Linked DNA regions of Homo sapiens: regions 2, 3, 4, 5, 6 and 7 are each linked to region 1. Evidence: promoter capture Hi-C in 16 types of primary human blood cells and fetal thymus (Javierre and others, 2016). All regions are on one chromosome and are shown on one strand. The core of a region is centred on a gene start or on the middle of the fragment in contact, and the rest is flanking DNA. Distances in the headings are between cores, read along the strand shown.

Region 1 (3,189 bases), core at 325-2,824:
AAAAACAAAAACAGAAAGAAGAGGAAAGGACACAGATCACAGTCACAGAGAAAAAAAGGTCACCTGAAGAGGGATATGCGGAGGGAAAGTAGAGGCTGGAGTGATGCTGCTACAAAGAATCCTTGACCAAAGAACGCCAGAGATTGCCAGGAACCACCAGTGGCTGGAAGAGGCAAGGAAGGCTTCTCCCCAGAGCCACTGGAGGGGGCATTGCCCTGCTGGCCCATGGATTTTGGAGTTAGCCTCCAGAAATGTGCAAGAATACATTTCTGTGTGTTAAGCCACTGAGTCTGTGGCTGTTACCACAGCCCTGAGAAACTCACACAACCTACACCTGGAAGCTGGATTCCTTCAGCTTCTGTGTTCTGATTCCAAAGCCTGGGGGAAAGCAGGATGGGCCTAGCTGGGGTCAGATGTCCGCCCCACAGAACCCAAAAGCCACTAAAGCTAAGGGCAGGAAATAGATGTGGGTTTCGGAGCTGCCCCTTCCAGTATCCTTGATAACCATCACCCTATCCAAAAGGCATTAATTCATATCTCAAGGTCAATTTGGAGGGAGGTCTCTCCAAGCAAGCCCCAGAGTTCTGTACACCTATCAGCTCCTGGGGCAAAGACACAGACGGCTGTAGCCACCGGTGTGGATGAGACAAGGCCAGGAAAGTACCGCTCTGATGACAGAATCAGAAGGACTCTGTGCAGGTTAGAGAGTTAGCAAGGTGATACTGAATGAGGACGACGATAAAACCCAACTCTTGGGTTCCAAGAGTCAACTTCACAAGCAAAATGTGGACGACGCCTGGCTTCACCGCGGCAGTGCCTTGTGAGAAAGACCTGAGGATTTTCTCTGACCAGCCGGCTTAGAGCTTCAGTTGCACGAAAAGCACAGCACTTTTGGCTGGGCTGGGGCGGTGATAGGCCTTTCGGGCTCGGTGCAACCCATACCTAAGACAGAGAGGCAACACAGGCGCCTCCAGAGAACCAGAGGTGCAACCGGGCCACCAGGCTACGTGGCAGAGGTTGCGGGGTAAGGGGGAGGTGGGATGCCTGGGGAGAGGTCAGCGGAGTTATCAAACTAAGGTTCCCGGGCAATGATGGGGCCAGGAGGCAGAGCGAGCAAACGGGGATGATCTGGGGTCTATTCCAAAGAGGTGGCGGGGGAGGTGGTGCTGCTGTGCCCCCAGTCACGGCCATCTCGGCTCCAGAGCCCTGGAGAGCAGTTCCCGGGTTCACACGGACTCTGAAGACAAGCGTATCCTGAGGGTGGACGACTCCTGGAAAGTCCACGCCCAGGCTGGCCTCAGGGGTCCGCTTCTCTGCGTCTCGCCCCGTGCCCGCAGGCGACAGAGTGGCTGGTGTGCTCGGGGGGCCTCCCAGGGCGCGGCGGCCTGCGCCCCTGCCACCTGGGGCTGCTCCCTTTGGAACCTCCTGTTCGCAGGCGGCTCCTCGGCCGTCCGCTCGGAGCTGGGGCGAGGGGCTGGCGGCGGCGAGCGGCGCGGCCCCAAGTTTATGCTAATCCGCAAAGAGCCCGCCTCCCGCCTCCCCTCCGCGGCCCCAGCCGCTAGCAGCGCCGGCCACTCCGCGGGACGCAGCCGCCGCGAAGCGCCAGGCGGCCGGGCCAGCGAGCTCGGGGGCCGAAGGGGACCCCGGGACCCTCGGGGCGGGACCCGGGCCGACCAGCGGCGGGGGCGGCGCGGCGCTGCAGGCGGACACCCGGCGGGGGGCACCGCGCGGGGCCGGGCAGAGGCGCGGGGGCCGCTATGGGCCGCCGCCGCCTGCTCGTCTGGCTGTGCGCCGTCGCGGCGCTGCTCTCGGGGGCGCAGGCCAGGGGCACCCCGCTCCTGGCGCGGCCTGCGCCGCCCGGTGCCTCCCGCTACAGTCTCTACACGACGGGATGGCGCCCGCGGCTGCGCCCGGGGCCGCACAAGTAAGCGCGGGCGGGCGGCGGGCGGGAAGAGGGAGGGATGGGCCCGCGCGCGTCGCCGCTCCCACCTGCCCGCACCCGCGGGGGGCGTCGAGGCCCCGGGCACCCCGAGGCCGCTGCACAGAGGGGGCGGCGCCCGGGGCCGAGCCCCTGCCCAGGCGAGCGCCCTACGCTCCGGGAGGTTGCGGGGCTGGCGAGGAAAAAGGAACCGAGGGGGCCTGGCGCGGCGGCTTGGGATCCTGGCAGTGCCAGCGGAAACCTTTCCAGCGAAGTAACATTTTCCAGCTGCGCTGTGTGCAGACTCCGGGCGAGCGGACCAGGTGGAGGGAGAGGAGGAAAGGCGGTCCGCGCGCTGAGCACGCGGGGCTCCCCCGCCCCGGGCCTCCCTTCTCTCCCCTGGCCCGGCCAGGTAGGAGATAGAGCTGCGCATCCGGGCGGCCGCTGCCCTCTCGCAGTCAGCCTGGCCCCAGCAACCCCATGGGAGCCCCAGCGTGGCCGGGCTGCAGAGCCAGAGCGGGCTCCTGGCTCCGGGCCTGTGCTGTGGCACAGCCGTCCACAGCGGTCGGCTTATGCCAGGCAGCCACCTCCTCAGCCCTTGTGGCTCATCAAGGAGCCTGCTTTCCCCGCCTCAGCTTCTGGTGTTTCGTGGGCAGTGGCTTGCGAACTGGCCTCAGTTAAGTGGGCTGGAGGCTCTGCCTGGGGTGCTGGCTGAACTTGAATTCTAGCTGAATTTGAGAGCTGTTGTAGGAGGAAGAGTACCGACACTCAGTGGGCCTGGGTACATCACAGCGAGCCTCCTGGAGGAGGTGGTACAAGAACTGCTCTGAGAGTAAGGGAACAGGACCAAAGGCAGGGGCTGCAAAACTACGAGGAGAGGTGGATTTCCCCGGGAGCCAGGCAGGGAGGAAGGACAAGACATGGTGCTCTCAAAGGAGTCACTGAGTGGGGACTCGGAAGCCTTAAATGCCAAGATAAGGAGTTTGGAATCAGCGAAGGATGGGGGGGTGTGGCAGGGCACTTGAGGGAGAATCCGGGCTGGCCTCTTCCCCACGCAGGGAGGGGCAGCCACATCAGGCTCCTGGTTCCAAATAGTGCTTAGCCCAGGGGCCACCCATCACGGAGGCTGGAATCAGAGACCAGCAGCGGGGCTGGACCCCAGACCAAGGGCGTTGGCTCCCAGGGACACAGAGAACAGACAGAAGAGACATGGGAGTTTGGAGTCCTGCTGAGGCCCACAGATGGAGGTGGGAGGGTAGGCGCCTCTGTGG
Region 2 (3,189 bases), core at 193-2,692, 500 kb after region 1:
GGCAGATCACTTGAGCCCAAGAGTTGGAGACCAGCCTGGGAAACATGACAAAATTCAGTTTCTACAAAAAATAAAAACAAAACAAACCAAAAAACAAAAAAACCCCCAAAATTAGCTAGGCATGGTGGCATGCACCTGTAGTCCCAGCTACCTAGGAGGCTGAGGCAGGAGGATTGTTTGAGCCTGGGAGGCAGAGATTGCAATGAACTGAGATTGTGCCACTGCACTCTAGCCTGGGTGACAGAGCAAGACCTTGTTGCACACATGCACATACACACACACACCACACATGGAGAAATCTGAACACAGGTGCATACACACACATGCAGAACGCCAGGTGAAGATTGGAGTTATGCTGTCACAGGCCAGGGAACTATCAGAAGCTGGGAGAGAGGCCTGGAGCAGAACCTTCCCTAGCTCCTTCAGAGGGAACATGGTTCTGCTGGCACCTTGATCTGGGACTTCTAGCATCCAGAGCTGGGAGAGAATAAATATCTGTTAAGCCACTTAGTTTGTGGTACATCAATACAGCATCCGTAGCAAACTACTACCATGCCACTCTGAGAATCCCATGTCCAGAGCTGCAGTTCTGCTTGGCTCAGGGTGACTTGGGCTGTGTGTGTGGGTTCACAGGTTGATGCAGGCTGAGCTTTAGTCCTGGGGAAGTTGAGAGGTCTCATTCTTTTGGTCAAGCTTCTACCAGGCCCAGTGGCCCAGGCAGGGCAGGATAGAGTGGGGCTCTCTTAGGCTCCCATTTCCAGTGTCTGGATTTGCAAATCAAAGGGCCTATTCCAGGCAGGTCCCCGCACCACAGGAGAGTGACAGTATCATTCTCCAGGCCCCTGTAGGCCTTGCTTAGATGGATTTCAAGGATCGGCTTGGGGAGTTGGCCGGAAGGGAAACTGTTAGCAGGCAGGAGCCGGATGCATCTGAAAGGAGCCTGCCCTGGGCCCTTCCTTCCCTACAAGCTGGCTGTGAGTCCTTACAGACAGACATCCTAGACCAGGTTAACCTTTAACCAGGCAGCTCCGGTTCTCAGCTCTTGGGCCTAGGGCTCCTGCCGGCCTGTGAGCAGGCCTGCTTTTCTGCTCCTGTCTCTGGCGAACCAGAGTCCCTGATGAATTGCCCACACACCCCCACCCTGAGCCCTGCCACCATGTTGAGTGCTGGTGTCCCAGCAAAGATGAATGGGCCCCACTAATGAGCTGGAGGTGGTGGTGCTGTGACCCCTGACCCCACACACTCGTAGCCAGAGGCTTGGGGAATGGCTGCCCCAAGCCTACTTAATGTGTCGGGCTGGCCTCTGAAAGAAAAGCACATTTATTGCTACTTAGAGAAAATTGATCTAATTGGGATGGAAGCATTCTGCTGATGGAACATGGAATTTTTATTAGGAGGGTGACTCGAGTTCAGCCAATGTATCCCAGCTGGAAGGAGGCAAGAGAATGTTTCTAGGGATTTTACCCAAAAAAACCTCTTTCCAGCTGATACCAAATATCTGAGGAGGTCTGGGTTTGAATTCTGGCTGCGCCGCCTACAGAGCCTACATTCTAGAAGCATTTGGCAGCTTCTATCAGGCCTGATAAATGAGAAGAAATTATGGCATTCTCGCTGATTTGTTGTGAGAAGAAAGTGAGATTATGCATGCATCAGGGCTATGGCACTGCCCCTAGCAAGAGACTGGGTCCAGTGGGAACTTCTCGAGCCAAGGCTACACATGGTTTCAGTCCGTTTGGCCAAACATCCTGCAATTCAATAACAAACCAGCCAATTCCTTGTTGGCTGCAATTGAGGTGACTCATTTGAGAGCTATTTTTAGACAGAGCTCTGGGCTCTGAAATGTGGGGGCCATACCCCCTTGATAGCCTCAGAATCACCCCTGGCTGCTGCTTCTCTGTCTCTTACCGCAGCCAAGTTTGTTTAATATCTCCTAAGTTTTCCTAAACTTACTGTGACCCCATCTTCCACTGCTCCAGCCTTCATATAGGCGGTCATGATCACTGACCACTCTGGCTGAGGGACTGTGTTTATCTCCTCCCTGGCTTCTCATCTTGTTTTCCCCTGGTCAAGCCTCCACACCCATTCTCCAAACCAGTCCACCCTCCATACCAGTTCCTCCCGCACACTGGTGCATTTTCTGCAAATGGATCTTTCTAAAACACAATTGGAATGAGATCACTCCTAAGCTTAAAACCCTTCCATGGCTCCCCACAGCCTCCAGGGTGAAGTCCAAATGCCTTAGCCTGCAATTTGGGTTCCTCAACAGGATAACTATATCATTTACCATTGGTTAAACTAGGATAGTTTTATCCAGGACAAATGGTAAATTGCATGGAATGCACAGTCAACAGGATAAACCAGGACTGTTCTAGGCAAGCTGGGATGTATGGTCACTCTATCTGAAGGCCAGATGGGCTGGAGGGACCAGTTTCAAGACGGTGCACTCATGTGGGTGTCAAGATGGTACTGCTATTGGCAAGAGGCCTCAGTTTCTCTCCATGCAGGCTCCTTCATAGGACTGCTTGAGTGTCCTCAGAGCAGGGCAGCTAGCTGGCTTCCCCCAAAATGAGTGGCCTAAGAGAGGGCAACGAGGAAGCCGCAGTGTCTCTTATGCTCTGCATGGTACATCCTGGTGCTTCTCATATCTCACCTGGCTCAAGGGCTGGCCCTTGTTCTGCCCCTTCCTCTTGGAAGCCACTTATCACATATTATTTAATATCATTTCTTCTGTATTCTGTTTGTTAGAAGCAAGTCACTAAGTTCAGCTGATTCTTAAGGGGAGGGTTCATTTTTTTAGAGGGAGTGTCATAGCATTTGTAGACACAATTTAAAACCACCACACCTTATTTAATAAGAGAGTTTCTTAGAGGATAGTCCCCAGGACACCTGTGTCTGAATCACCTGGGACATGTGAAAAAAAAATGTATGTTCCCATGTCTCATCTCAGCTGATTGAACCAAAACCTAAGGGTGGAGGGGGTATGAGGGGAGGTGAATGGGGCCAAGAATCTGTGTCCTGCACAAATTCTACTATGAGGTGGGAACTACTGCCTTCAGAGAATGGTGGTTAGAAACATGAAGTCCAGTTCTCTGGGTCAGAACCCTGGCTCAGTCACTGATGAGATGTTGTGACTTTATCTAAGTTACTTAAGCTCCATGTGTCTTAGTTACATCATCTGGAGAATGGGGA
Region 3 (3,189 bases), core at 337-2,836, 470 kb after region 1:
TGGATAGTATTTCATATTTCATGTGTTCTAATTGTGTCAGTTTATAATGCTTTGTAACAAAACACCTCAAAATTCAGTGGCTTACAACAACAACCATTGGCTGGGTGTGGTGTCTCATGCCTATAATCCCAGCACTTTGAGAGGCTGAGGTGAGTGGATCGCTTGAGTCTAGGAGTTTGAGAGCAGCCTAGGCAACATAGTAAGAACCTGTCTCTACAAAAAATATAAAAATTACCAGGGCATGGTGGCACATGCCTGTAGTCCCAGTTACTAGGGAGGCTGAGGTGGGAGGATCGATTGAGTCCAGAAGGTCAAGGCTGCAGTGAGCTGTGATCATGCCACTGCATTCCAGCCTAGGAAACCCTGTCTCAGAAAACCCCAAACAAAACAAAAACAAAAACAAAGAAGACAGTAACTATTTATTACTGCTCATGAGGATTATTGTGAAAATATTTTACTGGGCTCTGCTCTCAAGAGAAGGGAAGTTAAGAAAGCATGATCAAGCAGAAGAAAGTTGAGTAAAGATGAGGTGTTAGCCTGACATAAGCTTCAGCCTGGTTCCATGGAGAGCTCTGGAGGAAAGATGGCACCCCAACATTGGTGCCACCTTAAAGTCCTTTGATACACTCCTCCCTTGCTAATCCATCACTGGCCCCAAGCTGACAGATCCTGTTTAGCCAATGGCAATTCCACAGAAAAGGTGAACACTGTTAGTAGCCAATATTATAGCAGCCTGGTGAAGAAGAAGATGGTAAATTTAGTTATGTGTGTTTTACCACAATTAAAAAAAAATCAAAGGGAAGTACCCCACACTTCCCACAATGGGATGCCCTGCAAAGTTAAAAGGCAAAAGGTGTGGATATATAGCCTTGGTATAGTGGAGTAAGATTTGGGAGCGTTCACCCACTCAATGACATCACTCTACCATGAATCCCGTTTTACAGATGAGGAAACTGAGATAGTGAGAAGGGAAGTGTCTTGCTTAAGTTTGCACAACTGGTGAGAATCAGAGCTGGCATTCAAAGCCCCCTCTGCCTCCAAGGCCTGTCTTTAACCCCTGTGCCCACCACCTTGTGGAGGGAGACAGGCAGGAATCTGATTTGACCTCCAGATTTGGGGACAGGTAGATGGTTGCCCCATCCGCTAAGGCTGAGCAACACAATTTTGAGATCAACTGGGGAATTTTGACCTCCCATTGGAGTGATGTGGGAAAGAAAAGTGGTAGGAGACCGATTTTGAAAGGCAAAGGAAAACTCTCGACTCCAAAATAGCAGCGTTTTCCTCTGGTCTTGCTTTTCTCTACTTGTTTACCTGTAACTTCTTCCAACTTCTGCAGGGACAGAGAGAAGGGGAGGATGGGAATCCTCCAGGGGCTCAGGCTGCTGTTCAGCTCGCAATGTAGCCTGACAAATCAAGTGGGTAAAACCCATTAATTAGCAGTTTTGGAAACAGTTGCAAAGTTAATTATTCCGTTTTCTGATGAAAGAAAGCTAATTTTTGGCATTTACCCTGACAGTGACATGAACTAACATTTTTCGAGTTGACATCCCTCAAGATAAATGATGCTGTGAAGCATTTGTGCAAACATCCTGACCCATAGCTTGCTGCTACTGACTGTCTGCAATGGGTGTCTTTGCCACAGTGTTTTGCCCAGCAAGTTTTGGGGGTGGGCGAGCCAAGGAAGGGATTATCTGAGTCAGGGGGGTGGGAGGGAGGAGTGAAGAAGAGAGAGCTGGTGGCTCGTGAAATACAGAGAAGACTCAAAGCTCCAGGGAACATTTGAATATTCAGAAGGATTTTACTGTAACTGGAGAGCAGGGGAGTGCATTAACATTGTTGTCCATCTGTCTGTCTGTCTGTCTGTTGTGAAATGCATAAACAGAGGAGAAACCTAGTTTTTCCAAGTGGTTGCTTCCAAATTTAGATCTTCTCCCCAGACTTTGCTTTTGAATACTAGGCCCCTGCATCCAACTGTCTGTTTTATATCTCTACTTGGCATCTTTTTTTTGAGATGGAGTCTCTCTCTGTTGCCCAGGCTGAAGTGTAGTGGCAAGATCTCGGCTCACTGTAACTTCCACCTCCAGGATTCAAGTGATTCTCCTGTCTCAGCTTCCCAAGTACCTGGGACTACAGGTGCATGCCACCATGCCCAGCTAATTTTTGTATTTTTAGTACAGACGAGGTTTCACCATGTTGGCCAGGCTGGTTTTGAACTCCTGACCTCAGGTGATCCACCCACCTCAGCCTCCCAAAGTGCTGGGATTACAGGCATGAGCCACCATGCCCGGCTCTCCGCTTGGCATCTTACAGGCATCTGAAACTCACTATGTCCCATAGGAACCCTTAGTCCCCACCCCTACCCCAGCTTTTCCTCCCCAAGTCTTCCTCATTCAAGAAAATGACACCATCTTCCAATTAAGTGCTGGAGCCAGAAACTTAGCCATCATCTCTGGTACTTCCTCTTCCTTCACTCGTTCCCAATATCCAATTTATCAGCAAGATCTGCCAATGTGACCTACAAAACATATCTCGGATCTATCATTACTGTAGTCTAAATCACCATCTTTCCTCCTAACTCAGTGCTGTCCTATAGAAACACAACGAGAGCCACACATAAAAGCTTACATTTCTTGTGACAAAATTTTAAAGAAGTAAAAATAAACAAGTTAATTTAGTTTTAATAATCTATTTTATTTAACATGATATATTCAAACTATTACCATCTTAACATGGCCAATATACACTATGATTGAAATACTTGTTCTTTTGCTTTTTGTGTCCTAAGTCTTCGAAATCCATTGTGCATTTTACACTTACAGCATATTTCAATTTGGATGATAAATTTCCATTGAAAATACTTTATTCGTATTTAGATTTCATAACATTTACTGTTGGAGAAAGTAGAATTATGTACCTAGGTTGTTCCAAACATACTTCAAAGTTTTAAAATAGCTGAATTAAGTATTTTACTTTAACTTTAATTAATTTAAATAAAATATAATATTCAGTTCCACCATTCAGTCATTCAAAAGAATAAATGTCTTTTGCAGCAACATGGATGGAACTGGAGGTCATTACCTTAAGTGAAACAACTCAGACACAGAAAGTCAAATACCTCATGTTTTCACTTATAAGTGGGAGCTAAATGTGTACACGTGGATGTAGAGAGTGGAATGATAGACAATGGTG
Region 4 (3,189 bases), core at 358-2,857, 430 kb after region 1:
ATTTAATTGTTTATCTCCCTGCTCCATGAGAGCAGGGCATTGCCTACCCTGTTTACTTCTTTATGCCTCAGTGTACTGTACTGAGTGTATGCACTGTACCTGGAATATATTAGATTATCAATATTGAAGTAATTGGTTGGATAAATAAAGGAATGAATGAGGCCGGGCATGGTAGTGCATGCCTGTAATCCCAGCACTTTGGGAGGCCAAGATGGGTGGATTGCTTTAGCTCAGGGGTTCGAGACCAGCTGGGCAAAATGGTGAAACCCCATCTCTACAAAAAACACAATATTAGCCAGACCTGGTGGTGCATGCCTGTAGTCCTAGCTACTCAGGAGGCTGAGGTGGGAGGGTCATTTGAACCCAGGACATTGAGGCTGAAGTGATTCTTAAGCATGCCATTGCACTCCAGCCTGGGTAATAAAGTGAGACTCTATCTCAAAAAAAAAAAAAAAAAAAAAAAAAAGAATGTTTCCGTCTTTCACCCTCCCTCTTTTCTATCTCTGTAAAATGAGAATCATCATCTTCCAATCATTGGGATGTTGGAAAGATTCTGTTTAAATGAGGCTTTATCATCTGGAAGACCCATAGGATTTGGTAGTTCAAAGTCCAGCACAAGCTGAGGGTCGTATCCTGACCCAAGGGTCATGTAAGGGGCCAGCATACCCTCAAGCCCACTCACCAGGGAGCAGCACATCCTGTGGTCCGTCTGTAGGTCAGTGGATTGCATCCAGGCTCCTGGAATCAATGCCCCCAGTCTGAGAGTTCCCAGGTCCCCCTGCAAAACTGACAGCTTGATCCCCATGAAAAGTATCTGCTTATGAGGTCAACTATCATGCCTCACTGGGCCCCCTCACCCCCACTCCCTCTGTACAGGCTACAGACATGCTGTGTAGCAGCATGAAGGATGTCCTTCTCAGTATCATCTGGCTCTGAGTAGAGGGCATATTTATAGGATAGGAAATGTCACACCTATGTTTCCAGTATTTCCTCTATTAAAAGGTACAACCTGCCAGGCTGTGCAAGAAGATTTCTCTGCAGTGGGAACAAGAATTGAGGTGGGGGCCAAACTGGGCATGAGGTTTAGAGGCCAAAGTCCTTCTTCACAGCCTTGGCTCACCTGGGAATAGCCCCTCCTTCCTGCTGGGTAAGGTCAAGGACCTCTCTGACTCAGTCTGTCTACCCATGACCCCTTCATCTGGGCTTGAGGCTCTCATCATCTCTGGTCTTTGCATTATTGCTTATTTTTCCTATCCTGTGGCTTAGGATAATTACCAAATAATTATCAAACAAAATAATTATCAAAGCCAGTCTTTATTGAGAAAACAGTGGGAGCTAGGTGCTGTGCTAGGCCCTTTCATAAGCATAATTCAGTTCTCCCTGCAATCTCAGGAGGTAGACAGCATCAGTATGCTCAGATGAGGAAACTGAGGCTTAGAGAGGTTAAATACTTGTTTGAGGTTATGCTGCTCTTGGTTCCTTCCTATGAAGACTCACACATATTTGGAGCCCAGAACTCCCACCCACTCTAGGGGCCTTGTCCCTCTGTATCCTTGCTCTCCTGGGATTACTGCCCATTATCTTTGGGACTCGGGACAAGATGGTCTTGGGGCTCGGTTCTCCAGAATCCTAGGGCTCCTCTAGCTACTGGGAAGAGGAGGCAGCCCACCTCCAGGGACTGTTTGCAGCAGCGAGCTTGAACTTACTTTATTCATATGTCACAAAGGCAAAGATCCCAGCAGGCTGACAGACTGAGTGTGGGATCTGGATCTCTCAGAAACATACAGCCACCTCTGTTACTATAAAAACAATGTTTTTAGAGGATTTCAGAAAAAAATTCATAATGTGAAAGAAAAAAAGCTATGTGACAAAAAACCATCTGAGAGGCAGCCGTTACCATCTGCTGCCTGTGCAGCTGCTTCTAGGTTGCAGACCACTCCCCCACTTCCTCTGATCTGCCTGGGAAGGGTTTCAAGCCCAAGACTTGTGTATTGGTGTGGACTCAACACATCTGAGTAGGAAGCTCAAGGTACTCAGGCAAAGTGCTTTGAGAGCCCCTATCTTGAGCCAAACCCACCTTTCAGCCATCTTTCCCAGCTCCGCTACTGCATACTCTTGACTTTAACATAGTCACTCCTTAGTTTCTCCATCTGTAAAATGCAGTAATATTTGTGTGCATCATTGGCCCAATAAGTGCAGACACAGGGAATCAGCTCTTGCTTTTGAGTATAAAGGCAAACTCCCACCTGCCTTCAGGTCTTTGGATGACGTGGGTCCTCATTCATTCCCCTGATGATAAGCCGTAGAAAAAGGGGAGATGTATTTTTATGGTCACCATTTGGCGACTTCCTGATATAGGAAGAGGAGGCCACAGAGAGTGAAGATGGTAACAACTTTTCTGGCTGGATCTCCCCTGTCTGGGGGGGGGCTCTTGATGGTTAGCCCAGTTGCAGGGGTGCACACAGTAGGTGAGTTCAAGCAGGCTGAGGATACGCTTCCCCAACAGGGAATTTTCAAAAGACTCAGAACCCAGGCCTAGCTTGTCAACCTGGTGGGGTCTTAGCCTCTGTGACATATAATTCAAATGAGCAGAAACTCCCTTCTGATGGCCTCTGTTCCTTTCTCAGGGTCTGAGGGGCAGGTAGCATGACTGCCTCTACGGCATAGATATGAGAGTTGACCATGGCATGAGTATGTCTACTGAGTGCAGAGTGGAACAGGATCTGACCTCATTCTTAGAGAATCTGAAGCAGAAGTCTTCTAACCTCACAGGAAGGATGGAAGAGTGAGTAGCATGATGCCTGGAAAACTCTCAGCACAAAGATTGTGTCAGAGGATGTGCTTAATGCAGAAGAGCAGTTATTATTATTGCCAATAGCATTGGTTATTATTACTTCTATCATCAACATCAGGAATGACATAGTGAGGAAGAGGTGGCTAGCTGACCTCCAAAAGATCATGCTTCCCCTTTAATAGAATAGGGTTCATGCTGGCAGCTACCCAGACAGGACCTATACCTCTCAGACTCCCTTTCATATCATAGGGATCACATGACTAGTTTTCATTGGTGAACTATGAGCAGAAAGACTTTGGGCTGATTTTAGGCTGAGGAGATTAAGAAGTGAATCTACCTTCTCCACCCTTTCTTCTTCCACCTCCTGTCTAGAAGCAGAGTACTCTGAAGCCATG
Region 5 (3,189 bases), core at 458-2,957, 420 kb after region 1:
CAATGCCAATTCCCACCCGCGTTGCAGCCACCCCTGAATGAATGTCCCTGCTAAGAGTGCAGTTTTCTCTCCCTCTCGCCCTAACTTTGATTTGATCAGGCCAAATCTGAAATGATGTGTGAAAGTAATGATATTTTGTAATTAAATCTCTGGTGACGGCCACTGCAATTTGTGCTACATGCATTGTTCATAAGGAAAAAACGCATCAATTCATTTTCTGACTGGCTACTCCAGGGACTGGCAATTAGGAGCAGCTCATCTCTCGTTGCCTCGCATATTAAAGAGCTACTGAAACGCAAAGAGAATTTGGGAGGGTTTTCTTTTTCTTTTTTTCCCAACCTTCTAATAATGTTAGCTTAATTAGGGAGGCTCAGTGATAAAGGGAAAGTTTTGGATGATTTGAGCATGGTGTGGTGGAAGGAAGAGAATGAGCAAATAAAGAGAAATGAAAGTGTCAGGCACAGGGGCTATGATGGCTGGAAGATTATGAAGGTTCTACCCTGCAAGGCTTGACTTTGTAGGGTCAGGCTGGGGTGTGGCTAAGAACAGGAGGGTCCCAGGGCATCCTGGGTGCCACAGATCTAAGCTAAGTGCTGCTCCCTTCCACTCTGGCAGGATCTTTTCTTTTGCATTCTTAAAAAAATGTATTTTTTATTGAGCCTTGGAATGTGTCTTTTTCACTTGCCCCCCAAATGATGGCTCGTCCATCCTCTAACTGGTTACTGCTGTTGGCATCTTCACTGGACCAAGGTACTGAAAGTCAGTTCCATCTTTTTTTTTAAAGAAGACTTTATTCTTTTAGAGCATTTTCAGGTCCATAGCAAAATTAAGTGGAAAGTACAGAGTTCCCACATTCCCCTACCCCCACCCTTACCCAGAAGCTCCCTCACGATCAACATCCTGCTGGGAGTGGGACATTTGTCACAATCAGCGAACCTACCTTGACACATCAGTATCACCCAGGGCCCATAGTTTACACGAGGGTTCACTCTTGGTGTTGGCTATTCTATGGGTTTTGACAAATGTCTGATGACTTGTATCACCATTATAGTACCATATGCAATAGTTTCACTGCCCTAAAAATCTTCCATGCTCTGTTATTCATCCCTCTCTGGCAACCTCTGGTCTTTTTATTGTTTTGTCTCCATAGTTTTGTCTTTTCCAGAATGTTACATAGTTGGAACCATACAGTGTGTACCCATTTCAGATTGGCTTCTTCCACTTAGTAACATGCCTTTAGGGACATCCCTTTTCCAAGCTCATCTCTTAGAGCCCAGGAAAGCCTTTTCCCTGATCTCCACTCTTCATGTGTCCAAGCCTTTGGTTCTGTCTGTGCAGACCCCAGTAAGGACTTAGTCTATGTGCTGATTGCCTGAAGGCGTGGGCAGAGTTGGAGATGAGAGGGACAGTGATCACAGAGGATGGATTGGGGAGTGGGGATGGAAGTGGAGTGTGGTGAGGGCCCAGGTAGAAAAACAGGGAGGTTCGGGACCCCGGGATCTAAGATGAAGAAAGGCAAGACCAAATGCTGAAGTAGATTTGGTCAACGTTATTTATGCTTCTAGAGTCTTCCAGACAAGGTGCTTGTCTAGTGGTTTCACGAAAACTTTTAATTTGGTGCTTGCAATAACCGCGCTGCTTAGAGTGACATGATTAGTACAGCCCATTTCACAGGAGAAGAAACTGAGGCTCAAGGAGGAAAGGACCTATGCCCAAATCTGACAGCCAGCAAGGACAGTGCTAGATCTGAATTCCGGGTCAATACTAGGCCAGTGCAGAACTTTCTACGATGGTGGAAATGTTCTAGATCCGCACTGCCCAACATGGTAGCCACGAGCCACATGTGGCTACTGAGAACTTGAAATGTGGCTAGTGAGACTGAGGAACTGAATTTTACATTGTATTTAATTTTAATTAATGTAAATTTAAATAGCCACATGTGGTTGGTGGCTTCCTATTGGACCACACAGCTAGACTCTTGGAGACCTTGGTGCAGCTCCCCAGCTGCCCCCAGCCCGTGAGTTTCCCAGCATAAATGGCAACATCATGACTAATCTCCTTACATCTGATCTCCCTGGGAGCTCCAGGAAGGGGGATCTGGCCTCATCCTTTGCACACCTCACTGTGCCACACTCAGAGCCCATTATGGAATAAATCTACTAATACTTTTTGAATAAACACCTGCTTGTGCCATGGGCTTAGTCTGCAGAATTTCAATGCATCTTTTCAACAACTGATTGCAGTGGCTCCCATTACTATTCCCATATCTTACTAGAGGACAGAGAGGCTCAGCGAGGCTCTCTGACTTTCCCTAAGTCACACAGCTGGTAAATAGCTGGACCAGATTTGGAGCTTAGGCATCTCTGCTCCAAAAGCCCATCCTCTTTTCATGCAGCAGGCACAGGGGCCATACTGGAGTGGATCTCCACCACAACTGCTAACCCAATGGTCCCAAAGGTATTGTTCTTACCCCTGTCCTAGCAGATATTGACTCAAATGCAAGCAGTTTATCTTGGAGATAAAAGGCAATACAGCTAAGAGAGTGAGGAAGTGAGACAGGGAGGAGAAGGCAGACAATAAAGAGGCCATCATCCTGTTAGCGCTCCCGGGGTGGTTGAGGCTTAATCGTGCTGGGGAACTGTGGCAGTCTGTATGGACTACACCATAGAGTTATTCCACCCATGAGGTGAGGGAGCTGGGGCATTTGTCCACCGACTTTCACCATGCATTGGTTGAGAGCTGCTTTGGGTGTGTGTGTGGCACTTCTGGCATGCCACAGAGGTGGACAAAGTGGCTTTTGTGGACAGAGAAAGTCCTCAGGCAAAGAAATAACAAAAAAAACCTCAGAATGTTGGGAAAATCCCTCAGCCTTGGCCAATCCCCTGTGGTCACTATAAGCACCATTTCATCAGAAGGTAAGATGATGCTTTTCTTATGAGTGGTTCATCCCAAGTCCTCCATCACCCTTAGAGACCCCGGGTTCCCTTTTAAGGGGTTTAGCCATAATGAAGCAGATGGTGCTTGCTGATGATCTTTGGAAATTGGGTTGTATTTGCAATTCAGAAAAGGGGCACTGGGATCTTTGCATATGTGTAAAGAAGGTGTTTTCTGAAAATCATAAGGGTGTAAATAAGGTTTAGGTGCATGTTTAAATCTACTTGGGGGACAAACTTTTAGGGAACATTCTCA
Region 6 (3,189 bases), core at 231-2,730, 390 kb after region 1:
TGGAAAGAAAGAATTCAGATTATCTTTGTTTTCAGATTATATAATCTTTATATTTGAAAAAATCCAATGACTCCACCAAAAAATTATTAGAACTGATAAACAAATTCAATAAGGCTGCAGGATACAAAAACAACATACCAAAGTCAGTACCATTTCTATTTGCCAACAGCGAACAACCTGAAAAAGAATTCAAGAAATTAATCCCATTTACAATTGCCACGAATAAAATAAAATACCTGGGAATTAACTTAACCAAAGAGGTGAAAGATCTCTACAATTAAAATGATAAAACAGTGGTGAAAGAAACTGAAGAGGACACAAGGAAATGGAAAGATATTTCATATTCATGGATTAGAAGAATCAATATTGTTAAAATGTCCTTACTACCCAAAGGAATCTACAGATTCAATGCAATCCCTATCAAAACACCAATGACATTCTTCACAGAAATAGAATAAACAATCCTAAAATTTATATGGAACCACAAAAGACCCAGAATAGCCAAAGCGATCCTGAGCGAAAAGAACAAAACTGGAAGAATCACATTACCTGCCTTCAAATTATATTACATAGCTATAGGAACCAAAACAGCATAGTACTGGCATAAAAACAGACACATGCACTAGTAGAGCAGAATAGAGAACTCCCGAATGAATCCATATATCTAGGGTGAACTCATTTTTGGCAAAGGTACCAATAACATACATTGGGGAAAGGACATTCTCTTCAATAAATGGTGCTGGGAAAAGTGGATATCCACATGCAGGAGAATGATACTAGACTCCTATCTTTCACCACATAGAAAAATCAAATCCAAATTGATTAAAGACTTAAATGTAAGACCTCAAACTATGAAACCACAAAAAGAAAACACTGAGGAAACCCTCCAGGACATTGGAGAGGTAAAGGATTTCTTGAGTAATAATAACCCACAAGCACAGGCAACTAAAGCAAAAATGGACAAATGGGATCACACCAAGTTAAAAAAAACTTCTACACAGCAAAGGAAACAATCAACAAGTGAAGAGAAACCCACAGAATCACAGAATCATAGAATCCCATAGAATCATAGACAACCCATAGAATCATAGAATCACAGAATGAAGGACAAAAATCATAAGATCATTTCAATTGATGCTGAAAAACCATTTGATAAAATTCAACAGCCTTCATGATAAAAAAAACCCTCAAAAAACCTCCCATAGAATGGGAGAAAATATTGGCAAACTACCCATCTGACAAGGGACTAATAACAGAATATATAAGGAGCTCAAATAACTCTATAGGAAAAAACCTAATAATTCTATTAAAAATGGGCAAAATATCTGAATAGACATTTCCCAAATGAAGACATATAAATAGCACACAGGTATATGAAAAGGTGCTCAAAGTCATTGATCATTAGAGAAATGCCAATCAAAACTACAATGAGTTATCATGTCACCCCAGTTAAAATGGCTTTTATCCCAAAGACAGGGAATAACAAATGCTGGTGAGGATGTGGAGAAAAGGGAACTCTTGTACACTGCTGGTGGGAATGTTAATTAGTACAACCACTATGGAGAACAAGTTGGAGGTTCCTCAAAAAACTAAAAATAGAGCTACCGTACAATCCAGCAATCCCACTGCTGGGTATATACCCAAAACAAAGGAAATCAGTATATCAAAGAGATATTTGCACTCTCATGTTTACTGCAGCACTATTCACAATAGTCAAGATTTGGAAGCAATCCATCAACAGATGAGTGGATAAAGAAAATGTGGTGCATATACACAATGGAATACTATTCAGTCATAAAAAGAATGGTATCCTGTCATTTGCAACAACATGGTTGGAACTGGAAGTCATTATGTTAAGTGAAATAAGCTAGGCACAGAAAGACAAACTTCGGGCTAGGTGCGGTGGCTCATGCCTGTAATCCCAGCACTTTGGAAGGCCGAGGCTTCCAAAGTGGATCATTTGGATCATTTGAGGTTAAGAGTTCAAGACCAGCCTGGGCAACATGGTGAAACCCCATCTCTACTAAAAATAAAAAAAAACTAGTTGGGTTCAGGAGCGCGTGCCTGTAATCCCAGCTACTCTGGAGGCTGAGGCAGGAGAACCGCTGAAGCCTGGGAGGCGGAGGTTGCAGTGAGCCAAGATTATGCCATTGTACTCCAGCCTGGCAACACAGTGAGAGACTCTGCTGCAAAAAAAAAAAAAAAAAAAAAAAAAAAAAAGACTGCATGTTTTTGCTTATTTGTAGGAGCTAAACATTAAGATGATTGAATTCATGGAGACACAGAGTAGAAGGATGGTTAATGGGTACAAAAAATTAGGAAGAATGAATAAGACCTACTATTTGCTAGCACAACAGGGTGACTATCATAAAAAATAGTTGTACATTTAAAAATAACTAAAAGAGTAATTGGATTGTTTGTAACACAAAGGATAAACGCTTGAGGTGATGGATACTCCATTTACCCTGATCTGACGATTACACATTGTGTGCCTCTATCAAAATATCTCTGTAAGCCACAAATATTAATATATACACTTATGGCCCGGTGCAGTGGCTCACGCCTGTAATCCCAGCACTTTGAGAGGCCAAGGCAGGAGCATTACGTGAGCCCAGGAGTTCGAGACCAGCCTGCAATATAGTGAGACCTTGTCTCTACACAAAAAAACCTTAAAAAATAAGCTGGGCATGGTGGTGTGCACCTGTGGTCCCAGCTTGGGAGCTTTGGCAGGAGGATCCCTTAAGCCCAGGAGGCAGAGGTTGCAGCGAGCTGAGATTGCGCCACTGCACAACCGCCTGGGCAACAGAGTGAAACTCTGTCTCAAAACAAAAACAAAAACAAAAACAAAAACAAAAACAAAACAAAACAAAACCAAACCACTATGTACCCACAAAAATTAAAAATAAAAAAAGTGGTCTTGTAGCTACATTGTCAGGGTGTATAGCCATTACCTGCTATATTTTCTCCTTTACAATTCTCATTTAGTCTTAGTTGCATAAGTAACTATATGTTTAACGTTCATTACCAGTTTTTTAAATTTCATTTTTTGTCTTCCTAGTCATTTTGCTTGTCTGAAGCTTTTGATCTAAGACGTTTACAGGAAGAGCCCATGAGAACAATATCCTCTATTTCATGCTAATAACAATTTGCCTCTGCCCATTATACTTTCAAGTCAGTTTTGCTGGACAT
Region 7 (3,189 bases), core at 283-2,782, 260 kb after region 1:
ACAGAGCATGACCCTATCAAAAAAAAAAAAAAGGGGGCGGGGGGTGGGGTGGGGGCGCAACCAGCCTTCTGGGTGTGCAGAAGCATGAGATACCTAGAGCAAGAATGTCTTCCACTTCTCAATCCTAAAAGTACTCAGAAATTAAAAGCTTACACAGTTAAGCTAAGGAGTCATCTGCACTCTCACATCATGTGTACCAGTGTTATGCACTTGTTTGGCTACAAGAGTTTCAGTAACTACCTGCTATCATGGGTGGGTGATTTAGTAGTTGGTGACACAGAAAAAATACCTAAGTCTTAGTACATTTTGACATTTAACAGGGTGAATAAGAAAAGGTGAGATATAAGCTGTCCTCATGCACAAGTCAGTAGTAAATCTCCATGACAACTGTTCTTACACATGCACGGAAAAATTGGACACAAAAGGCTCACCTTCAACAGTAGAGTACCCAACTCTGGAGTGGCCTCTTTCCCCTCACTCTAGTGCACATGGACTACCAAAGCCTGTCTCAAAGTCCCCTAGGGTTACGTTTGCTCAGTTCCTTAGTCACACCACTGGAATGTAAGGTAGGAGTCAGGTAAACGAGATTTAGAAAAACCCAACCCGCACGTCATTCACAGGATACTACCAGACCAACTTTTCTTCACAGGCTGGCTGGGCTTCTGCACCAAGGATCTAGGATTCTCTCAAATAAGCTGAGATGGAGGTGGAGGCAGAAGCCACCCCGCTTAGATCCAGCAGGAGATGGCTGGCCTCCAAGAAGTATGCTTGTCCCTGCAGTGTTCAATGCCCTGAACAAGCTTTCTTGACTACTTTTAGAAAATAAACTATCCACCTAGGTCTTCCAGGCAAGGTCTCACAAAACCATCTCAAGAAGACAAGGAATCCACTGGAGAAGGCTGCCTTTGACCACCTCTCCTCTTTCCCTAATTCAATCACACTTCAGTAATGGGTAAAAATCTAATTTAACTGATTGTAGATGACATTCTTTGGATGACTTTTTAAAACTAGTAGGCCCACTATATTGTCTCTCTAATATAGCTGCTATCCATTCAGCAGAGTGGTTGGGTGGAATCAGGATCTGGATTCAAGATTACAAAGTTGGGGGTGAGAAGGCAAATTGGATTCTGTTTTCTAGTAACTTTCTCAGACGTTTGTAATGGGGAAGAGGACATTTGCCAGTATTCTTACATGACTATTTCCCTTCTCAGTCAATTTCCACCAAGCAACCACTGATCCTTCAATCTGATTACTATCATCATGGATAAATTTTGCCTAGTCTAGATTATATAAATAGAATCATACAATATAGACTCCTCTGTCTGCCTTTTTAACTTTTTTTTTTCCCTCTGAGACAGCGTCTCGCTCTGTCACCAGGCTGGAGTACAGTGATGCAATCTCGGCTCAGTGCAACCTCTACCCCTCAGGTTCAAGCGATTCCCATGTCTCAGCCTCCTGAATAGCTGAGATTACAGGTGTGCGCCACCCTCGGCTAATTTTTGTATTTTTTTGTAGAGACGGTGTTTCGCCATGTTGGCCAGGCTGGTCTCGAACTCCTGACCTGAAGTGATCCACCCGCCTTGGCCTCCCAGAGTGCTTGGATTACAGGCATGCACCAACCGCACCTGGCCCTTAACCATGTTTTTAAGATTCATCCATGTTGTTGAATACATAAGTAGTTCCCTTCTTAACTGCTGATAAATATAGTATATTCTATGACTATACCATAATGTGTTATCTATTCTGGGATGTTTCCAGTTTTGCACTCTTATGAATAGAGCACTGCTATGAACATTCTTGTACAAGTTTTTTCATGGATAAATGTTTTTATTTCACTTGAGGTAAAAATACCTAGAACTGGAATTCGTATCTCCCTGTGGTTAAATCTTCACTCCACTGATAATTAGTGATGTCGAGCACTCTTTCATTTGCTTATTTATTGACCATTCCTGTATCTTCTTTTGTATAGTATATGTTCAAGTCTTTTGCTCTTTTTATTATGCGGATGGGATGTCTGTTTTTTTATTATGGAGCTACAGGAATTCTTTGTATAGTCTGGATATAAGCCCTTTCAGATAAACATGTTGCAAATATTTTCTTTTAGTCTGTAAATTCTGTATTTATTTTAGCAGTGTCTTTTGTTGAACATAAATTTTTAATTTTAATGAAGTCCATTTAGTCAATTGTTTCTCTTGTTGGTGTTTTTCTGTCCTAAGGAATCTACTCTAAGGTCATATTCAACCATGATATCACCTACAAGCTTTAATATTTTAGTCTTCACACTTAGGTCTATGTTAGTCTTACTAATAAATAGATTTAAAACGTTTTGAATTTTATACCAAGATGCCAGGCTCAGAATATATATATATTTTTAATGAGCTTGTGTCTTATTTTCTCTAATAGAACTCACCAAAATGAGAGCTTCCCAAGATGAATATTGTAAAGATACTTTCCTTCACATTTAGCCCTTTAATCCCTAGGTGGTTACATATAAAAGGTTGTAAGCACATACATTTTTGGAACCCCACAGAATTCTAGACTCTAAAGAGAAAAAAGGCAGAAGTGTGTATTTGGCACTGAGAGTATTTTAACAGGACTAAACGCAATACGATGTCAACATTGATCCTAAAGTTTGCTGTACTGCATTTGAAAGAAAAATCATGATGATAAATTCTGTTTGTAAGGTTAAGGCTGGTTTGAAAAAACCTGAATTTTACTAAGGGCTACTTTCCCTGGGTTGTGAGAGCAGGTAATGCTTCCAAACTTGGCAGTGGATTGTACTTAGCAGTGAGTACCCATAAGCAGCCTTTTTGTAAACTCCTAGATTATGCAGGATAAGAAACTCCTGGGTTATCTGGAATCAGAGTTTCTTTGGTTGAAACTGCAGGTTCCAGAAGGCTAGCTGTCATTCCAATGCTATTTCAGATCCTACGGGCACCAGGCACAGAGTGGGAGAGAAAGAATGGAAATATGCTTGCAAGATGTCTGTGTAATCAAAATCCTGGGGGGAAAAGCAAAAACAAACTGGGATGAACATAAAAAGATATGAATGAGTTCAGGACAACCTTTTCAGTACCTAGAGCAAGTGTTATTGTGGTTCTCAAAAATCCCAATCCTTTCAATGACCTTTGAGGCTAGAAGTAGTGTAACTGTGACAGTGACTGCAAGTAGGCCAATCCAAGTTTCCAG

What was found. Contacts are between HindIII fragments. The CHiCAGO score rates a contact against its expected background, and 5 or more counts as called.
Region 2: a contact is called between a fragment that was not itself captured here and the fragment with the promoter of EMILIN3 in region 1, in 1 of 17 cell types (activated CD4 T cells). The highest score is 5.7, in activated CD4 T cells.
Region 3: a contact is called between a fragment that was not itself captured here and the fragment with the promoter of EMILIN3 in region 1, in 1 of 17 cell types (non-activated CD4 T cells). The highest score is 5.7, in non-activated CD4 T cells.
Region 4: a contact is called between a fragment that was not itself captured here and the fragment with the promoter of EMILIN3 in region 1, in 7 of 17 cell types (naive CD4 T cells, activated CD4 T cells, non-activated CD4 T cells and 4 more). The highest score is 9.4, in naive CD4 T cells.
Region 5: a fragment that was not itself captured here is called in contact with the fragment with the promoter of EMILIN3 in region 1 in 2 of 17 cell types (non-activated CD4 T cells and activated CD4 T cells); the score reaches 7.8 in non-activated CD4 T cells.
Region 6: a fragment that was not itself captured here is called in contact with the fragment with the promoter of EMILIN3 in region 1 in 4 of 17 cell types (activated CD4 T cells, non-activated CD4 T cells, total CD4 T cells and 1 more); the score reaches 7.0 in activated CD4 T cells.
Region 7: a fragment that was not itself captured here is called in contact with the fragment with the promoter of EMILIN3 in region 1 in 3 of 17 cell types (naive CD4 T cells, non-activated CD4 T cells and endothelial precursors); the score reaches 6.4 in naive CD4 T cells.

Annotation. Positions count from the first base shown.
Region 1 is chr20:41,365,203-41,368,391 of GRCh38, reverse strand. It overlaps EMILIN3 (elastin microfibril interfacer 3), which reads left to right and starts at 1,574. Exons shown (of 4, transcript NM_052846.2): 1 at 1,574-1,924. The coding sequence starts at 1,758. RefSeq lists an enhancer at 2,336-2,837. The HindIII fragment of the contact is 20,041 bases long and covers 1-3,189 here.
Region 2 is chr20:40,867,599-40,870,787 of GRCh38, reverse strand. No RefSeq gene overlaps it. Among named protein-coding and RNA genes, the nearest start is that of SNORD154, 150 kb to the right of the region's middle. The HindIII fragment of the contact is 1,493 bases long and covers 696-2,188 here.
Region 3 is chr20:40,898,136-40,901,324 of GRCh38, reverse strand. No RefSeq gene overlaps it. Among named protein-coding and RNA genes, the nearest start is that of TOP1, 130 kb to the left of the region's middle. The HindIII fragment of the contact is 2,073 bases long and covers 550-2,622 here.
Region 4 is chr20:40,930,320-40,933,508 of GRCh38, reverse strand. No RefSeq gene overlaps it. Among named protein-coding and RNA genes, the nearest start is that of TOP1, 97 kb to the left of the region's middle. The HindIII fragment of the contact is 3,416 bases long and covers 1-3,189 here.
Region 5 is chr20:40,949,191-40,952,379 of GRCh38, reverse strand. No RefSeq gene overlaps it. Among named protein-coding and RNA genes, the nearest start is that of TOP1, 78 kb to the left of the region's middle. The HindIII fragment of the contact is 9,551 bases long and covers 1-3,189 here.
Region 6 is chr20:40,971,918-40,975,106 of GRCh38, reverse strand. No RefSeq gene overlaps it. Among named protein-coding and RNA genes, the nearest start is that of TOP1, 55 kb to the left of the region's middle. The HindIII fragment of the contact is 3,198 bases long and covers 1-3,079 here.
Region 7 is chr20:41,108,446-41,111,634 of GRCh38, reverse strand. All of the region lies in intron 13 of TOP1 (DNA topoisomerase I), which reads right to left. All of the region lies in intron 4 of PLCG1-AS1 (PLCG1 antisense RNA 1), which reads left to right. Among named protein-coding and RNA genes, the nearest start is that of PLCG1, 28 kb to the left of the region's middle. RefSeq lists a silencer at 159-238. The HindIII fragment of the contact is 1,460 bases long and covers 803-2,262 here.